Regions from separate parts of the Homo sapiens genome. Here region 1 is linked to region 2. The links are contacts of gene promoters, found by promoter capture Hi-C in human tissues and cell types (Jung and others, 2019). All regions are on one chromosome and are shown on one strand. The core of a region is centred on a gene start or on the middle of the fragment in contact, and the rest is flanking DNA. Distances in the headings are between cores, read along the strand shown.

Region 1 (3,678 bases), core at 188-2,687, 160 kb after region 2:
CGAGACTGTCTCAAAACAAACAAACAAATAAACAAAAAACAAAAAAAGGCAAAAAACCCTTAAGTAATAACAATATATGTTAAAATGTTGAGTAGTAAGTGCTATAAAAGAAGACTCATATATACATACAGATACTGATGCATAAATATAGAAGCTTGACAAATTTTGAGGTGTGTCCATATGATGGTCTAGGGAGACACTGTTTTGGGAACATGGGGTGGCGGTGAAAGTTCACCTGCCCAACACGTTAAGTTGGGAATCCTACCTTTTCTAGGTCCCTTTCCCCCACTCCACGCTATACTCCAGTGTTTCTGCTTTGCCTTAGGATGCAAAGCCATGCCCCATGGGGCTCAAAAACAAACCTAGTTTCATTTCCAGCACGGGGCATGGACTTTCAGCCCCTTTTCCATTAGGGTTTCTGAAGACCAGTGTGAGCCCTAGACCCTGCAGCCAGAGAAGAGAGGAAGCAGAGAGAGAGTGGGACCCAGCCACCAGCACACCTGCCTTGTCCTGTGCTTGCTCTGAGTTTGTGCTGGGATTTTAGATGAGTCCCTGCAGAGTGGGAGGCACTGAGAGCCAAGCAAACATGAAAAAATGGGGCCCTGCCTTATAAACATTCGAGAGACAGGCACAGTGTTGACGCCAGACAGGGTAGTAATTATAATAGCACTAAGCACCTGCGCTACCTTGCCAAGTATGGACACTTAGGAGTCCCACTTTACAGATGAGCAAAGTGAGGCCCAGAGAGGTTGAGCGACTGGTCAGAGGTTATCTAGATAATGAGTGGCAAACCCGAGATTCGGAGACCCCACTGTCATGCAAAGCGTTTACACTGCGGAGTGTTCTCCTCTAGGCACCACTACAGGGCAGCGTGGAGGCAGAGATGCTGTTCCTGCCCCACGGTTGACAATCCTTCTCCCCTCCTCTAGGAAATCTCCCCCGGCCAGCTGAGCCTGGAGGACCTCTTGGAGATGACGGATGAACAGGTGTGCGAGACTGTGGAGAAATACGGAGCCAACCGGGAGGAGTGTGCCCGCCTCAACGCCTCCCTCTCCTGCCTCAGGAATGTCCACATGTCAGGTGAGCAGGCCCCGGGGTCGGGGATGTGGAGACTTGTCCCCAGCACAGCTGCCGCGGTCCCTCGGCATCCCGTGCCCGCCACTGCAGGCCAGGACGAGACAGAGTCAACCCTGGGGGGCAAATCCGAAACGCAGGAAGAGGCAGCGTGGACCTGGGATTTGGAGGCCGGAAGACACCAGCAAGGGCAGCTCTTGGATTTGAACTCTTGCCCCAGGAAGACCCGCTGAGGTTTAGGGTATCTGGTTCTGGATAATTAGGGTCCAGATATGAAAATATTGAGTGTGAATAGGAGACCAGGGTCTTTTTACTTTAGACATTCTGACGTGGCTTTGCATTTTGGGTCAATGTCTAGCTTCTAATTTTTTTTTTAACAGAAGTAATTTGCATTAATTGTAACATAAACCAGAAAATAGATTTTAAAAAAATCACCCTAAGCTCCACCCTCTAGGTAACTGCTCTTGTCATTTTGGTATAATTTTTCCTGACAAATGGATATATGTATACTTTAAAAAATAGAATTATCCACACATATTGCTTAAATTTTTTTTTTTTTCACCTAATAAAATAACCTCTGTGACTTGTTCTATCAGTTTGGGGGCCAAATATATTGTCATCCCTCCTGGATCTTTTCCATTAATTGCTCAGATACCTGTTTGTCTTTATTAGCAGAACATCAGATATCATCTTCCTGAGGCTTCCTGCTTCTCTTTAGCCTCATGATTTTTCTGCAAATTCTGGGGCCTTTCTGTCCCAAGGGATCCGCTCTGCACATGCCAGCCACGGAGAAGTGTTAGTGGCCATCAGCACGGTTGTTGCAGTTCCCACCACAAGGTGTCACTGTTGAGCATCAGTCTGGCAGAGTCAGGTGGAGGCTCACAGATGCCCTTGCTTGATTCAACCTGCTCTATTCAACAAGCATTTGTTGAATATTGTTCTAGGCCTGGAGAAGTCTTCTAATCTGAGTGGCTATGGGGTGCCAGCAGGGCTGAGAAGGCAGCGGTGAACAAAACAGAACATACTTGAAACAGGTCATCGGCCCAGTCCTCCATGCGTGCCCTTTTGTATTTTTTCTTGCTGGCAGATCCTGATTCAGGTACAGTCAGCATCAAAAGGGACCATGCGGCCGGGCACACTGGCTCACGCCTGTAATCCCAGCACTTTGGGAGGCCAAGGCAGGAGGATCTCTTGTGCTCAGGAATTCCAGACCAGCCTGGGCAACATGGCGAAACCCCGTCTCTACAAAAAATACAAAAAAATGTGCCATGTGTGGTGGCACACGCCTGTAGTCCCAGCTACTCGGGAGGCTGAGGCTGGTGGATCACTTGAGCCCAGGACATTGATTGAGGCTGCAGTGAGCTATGATCACACTGCTGCACTCCAGCCTGGGTGACAGAGCAAGATCCTGTCTCAAAAATAAAATGGGGGGCAGACCATGCACTGGGGGCTGTCTTATGTGTTGAAGGATGTTTGGTTAGAAGCATCCTTGACCTCTGCCCATGAGATACCAGTAACATCCCCCAACTCAAAGTCATGACACATGGAAATATCCCCAGATATTTCAAAATGTTCCCAGGGAGGCAAAATCACTCCTGGCTGACGAGCTGTAAAGGTCATGTTACTCTTTACCTCTAGCACAATGGTGTTGACTCACCCAACATGAGTGTGGCTGACAGGGAGGGGCCTCTCAGTCACTCAGTACATACAAAATCTGCTCCAAAGGTGACTTTCTCTCTTTACCCACAGTGAGAAGCAGATGGCAGTTTTCTCTCTTTAAAAAAAAATTGCAGGCTAGGCATGGTGGCTCACACCTGTAATCCCAGCACTTTGGGAGGCCAAGGTGGGAGAATTGCTTGAACCCAGGAGTTTGAGACCAGCCTGGGCAACATAAAGAGACTCTACCTCTACCAAAAAAAGAAAATTAGCTGGGTGTGGTGGCATGCGCCTGTAGTCCTAGCTACTTGGGAGGCTGAAGTGGGAGGATTGCTTGAGTCCTGGAGGTCAAGTCTGCAGCAAGCTGAGATAGTACCACTGAACTCCAGCCTGGCCCACAGAGTGAGGTCCTGTCTTAAAAAAAATTGCACCAAATTACAGTGTTGTCATAAACATCTTCCTTTGTCAATAAATGCATTCACTTCTTATTTTTAATACCTGAATACTAACAATTTATTCAACCAATCTCCTATTTTTGGAAATATCCATATTTTTCCTATCATAAGCAACGCTGCTGTGAATACCCCTGAGTGTTATCTTTGGGGACCCCCGTGGCTATTTCTTTACAGTGAATTCATAGGAGAGGGGTCTTGCAGTGGAACATTTGCATATTTTGGCCGGACGTGGTGGCTCACACCTATAATCCCAGCACTTTAGGAGGCCGAGGCCGGTGGATCACCTGAGGTCAGGAGTTTGAGACCAGCCTGACCAACATAGTGAAACCCCATCTCTACTAAAAATACAAAAATTTAGCTGGGCTTGGTGGCGCATGCCTGTAATCCCAGCTATTTGGGAGGCTGAGGCAGGAGAATCTCTTGAACCTGGGAGGTGGAGGTTGCAGTGAGCTGAGATTGTGCCACTGCACTGCAGCCTGGGTGACAGCGAGAC
Region 2 (3,539 bases), core at 264-2,763:
ATGGATAGGTAAAATCTCTTCTGTCCATACAATGGAATATGATTCAGCCATAACAAGAAATTAACTACTGATACAAGCAGCAACATGCATGAACCTTGAAAACATGATCCTGAGTGAAAGAAACCAGACACAAAAGGCCACATAGTGTAGGATTCCACTTACATGAAATGTCCAGAATAGGCAAATCCATAGATAGAAAGCAGATTAGTGGTTGCCAGGGGCTAGAGGAAGGGGAGAATGGGGAGTAACTGTCAATGGGTAAAGGATTTCCATTTGGGGTGATGAAATTTTGGAACTAGATAGCGGGAAGACTCCACAACAGTACACTGCATTCTGAATGTACTTAATGCCACTGAATTGTACATTTTAAAATGGTTACAGGATGGGCTTGGTAGCTCGCCTCTAAAAGTCCCAGTTCTTCGGAGGCTGAGGCAGGAGAATGGCTTGAACCCCAATGTTTGAGGTTACACTGAGCTGTGATCACACCACTGCGCTCCAGCATGGGCGACAGAGCGAGACCCTGTCTCTAAAAAAAAAAAATACGTAAATACATAAAATAGTTACAACTGTCAATCTTCTGGGTTTTTTTTAACCACAATAAAGACAAATTGAACTAGTTACTAGACAATGACAACTTGCAGCTTTTCGAAGCCAAGCCAAATTGCTTCAAAGTCTTGGAAGCATTGCGAGAACATAGCTGTTTAAGTAGGATGGTTAAGAGTACAAGATCTGAATTCAGACTTCCTAGATTCACCTCCAAGCCAATTTTCTCCCTTGGACCATAGGGAAGTCATTACATCTTTCTAAAATGCAGTTTCCTCCTGTGTAAAATTTGAAGCGGTGCCTACCTCCTACGGTCTTTGTAAGGATCGAACATCTAACAGGGCGTCTGCTAATCTAATAATATGCCATTCAATAAAAGTTGACCAGGGAGCGTTATTACTAGTTTAAAATGTGACCAATAGTCGCATCGCAGGTTTTGAAGAGTGGGAAGAGGGCATTTTGGCATGGAGGCCATTGCAGGCGTCAGGAGACGCGGGATCGAACCCCTGTGCTGTCACCAGGTGCGAAAGCCGCCTTCTTCTTCGGCAAATGGAGCTGGGGGTGAAAGGGTGAGAACTGGCAAAAGCCCTAAACAGAACGGACGAGTCTGGGTAGCTGGGGGGTGTCGGGGGAAACCTCTGCAGGTCGGTCCCGGCTGCAGGCCTGGAGACGACGGGAAGAGGTCGGGTTGGGGTCCGGTCACCTGCCACCCCAGCCACCTCCTCCCCGCGCGGCCGCCTGGCCCCCTCTGCCCACCGCCGCCGCTCGGCCTCCTCCTACCAGGGCAGGTTCCTGATCTTGGTCGCCGCGGGCTGCTCCTGCTGCTTGAGTGCTGAGGTCTCCATGGCGGGGAGACGAAGGTGACCAGATCCGCTGAGATCGTCGCGTCACCCAAGCGCCTGCACAGTGACCAGCCGCGACCTGACCCTGAGACCCTGGCACTTACAGTTCGCGCGCAAAAGCAACTCTCGCGAGACGCGGCCACCAGTTTCCGACTTCCTCCCTCGGTCCCGCCCCCTCGCGTTGCTAGGGCGTCGGTTGCTAGGTTACCGGAGGCGCGGGCCGCCAGCGTCCCTCCAAGCTCCGCCCCTCCAGCCTGCTCTGAACTCTCAGATACCCAGGCGCTTCCAGAGCAGGGCAGCGGGAGAGGCAGGGCCCCCTGCAGCCCCAGTCATCATTACATATTAAGATCTCAAGGCCAAAGCCAATTCCTGCCATCGCCAAGCTTCAAACACTTAAATTCAAAGGAACAAAAGCTGCCGGGGCTCAAAAAAAAAAAAAAAAATCTAAGAAAAAAAACAACACCGAGTAAAACGGCTGGGTCTTGAATATAGATGCCTTTGCGAAAGAAGGCTTGAGATACCTCTCGGCCCCCAAGCTGGGAGGTGAATATTTGGAAATGAAAACAACCCCAAACAAACACAACTGCAACCTACCTATCTCCGGAATCCGTGCCCCTCGCCCAAAAAGTTTAGGGAACCAACCTCCAGAAAACGACTCCAGAGAAAAACAAACAGAAACTTCCAGTTGGGTTAATCTGTGTCGCTGGAAGGTCTAGTTCATGAACACAGAGGACAAGGTCCTTGTGATCTGAGATACTGAGGAGAATCGATATCAACATTTTAGGTTTTTTTCCTGAGGCGAGGAGAATTCTAGATCACTTTTATTTTCTTCTTTTTTGTTGGTCTGTATTTTCTTTTCTTTTTTTTGGTGTCTTGCTCTGTCACCCAGGCTGGAGTGCAGTGGCGCTATCTCGGCTCACTGCAACCTCTGCCTCCCGGGTTCAAGCGATTCTCTGCCTCAACCTCCGGAGAAGCTGGGATTACAGGCGCGCGCCACCACGCCTGGCTAATTTTTGTATTTTTAGTAGAGATGGGATTTTGCCATGTTGGATAGGCTGGTCTCGAATTCCTGACCTCAAGTGATCCACCCGCCTCAGCCTCCCAAAGTGCTGGGATTACAGGCGTGAGCCACTGCGCCTGGCCTGGTCTGTATTTTCCAGCAATGAGCATGCAAAGCATCCATATTGAAGTCTTTTCTTTTTTTTTTTCTTTTAACATGATGAGGAAGACAAAAATCCTGGAGGATTTTTGAGGCTGGCCTGGGGTCAGCAGTGTTCTGATTAGGAGGTAGCAATACTCTTTGCATAGGATTACATCACTGTCACCTGCTTCAGGAACACAGCAGAGGGACAGTGGCAAGTATGTGATGGCAGTTATGGCTTCACCCTAGCCCCTGCCTGGGGACCCCGAAGAAGGGGATCAGCTAGGGCTTGTGATGTGACAGTGCCCCTACTCTGCTTGCTCCCAGGAAACTTTAACACTGGGGGCTTAGATCATTAGCATGCCATTTTTAAACTTTTCTTTCTTTCTTTTAAGATAAAACTGGTTTTATTCATTTTTATCTCCAGGAAGGGAATCATAAATGATTAACAAGTTTTTCTTAAATACTAAGGCTAAAAATCAGCACATGTTTACAATTAATTTGCTGACACATGCTGAGGTGAGATATAGATGCCTCTGAATTAAAGTTATAGAAACACATTAAATATTTGTCATGTATTGCCAAATTCTGGGGTCTTTGAACACTCCTGGGGTTTTGTTCTGTTTCGTTTTTGAGAGAAGGTCTCACTATGTCACCCAGGCTGGAGTGCAGTGGCACAATCACGGCTCACTACACTCTCTAACTCCCCGGCTCAAGTGATCTGCCTGCCTTGGGCCTCTTAAAGTGCTGGGATTATTGGCATGAGCCACTACACCCAGCCCACTTCTGTTTTTTAAAAGGCATAAAATACAAGTGATGGGTATAAAAATAAAGGAAAACAGCTGATACAATTTTAGAAAACAACTGATACAATAACTAAGCAAAATTATGAAAGATTACTAAAGAAATAAATGGTGCTATACCCTCCTCACCAACGATCTAATTGTTGAGACGCAGGCTTCACACTGGGGTAAAATCCTAAAGGGTGGCTGATATGGTTTGGCTCTGTTTCT

Evidence for each region. Contacts are between HindIII fragments. The study calls those that stand out against the background at their distance.
Region 1: a fragment that was not itself captured here is called in contact with the fragment with the promoter of RFC5 in region 2 in 2 of the 25 tissues and cell types used here (mesendoderm cells and thymus).

The regions. Positions count from the first base shown.
Region 1 is chr12:117,852,830-117,856,507 of GRCh38, reverse strand. It overlaps KSR2 (kinase suppressor of ras 2), which reads left to right. Exons shown (of 20, transcript NM_173598.6): 3 at 930-1,080. Among named protein-coding and RNA genes, the nearest start is that of KSR2, 110 kb to the left of the region's middle. The HindIII fragment of the contact is 3,711 bases long and covers 1-3,292 here.
Region 2 is chr12:118,014,677-118,018,215 of GRCh38, reverse strand. RFC5 (replication factor C subunit 5) reads right to left here and starts at 1,513. Exons shown (of 11, transcript NM_007370.7): 1 at 1,324-1,513. The coding sequence starts at 1,388. RefSeq lists a silencer at 1,222-1,271 and an enhancer at 1,636-1,805. The HindIII fragment of the contact is 13,218 bases long and covers 1-3,539 here.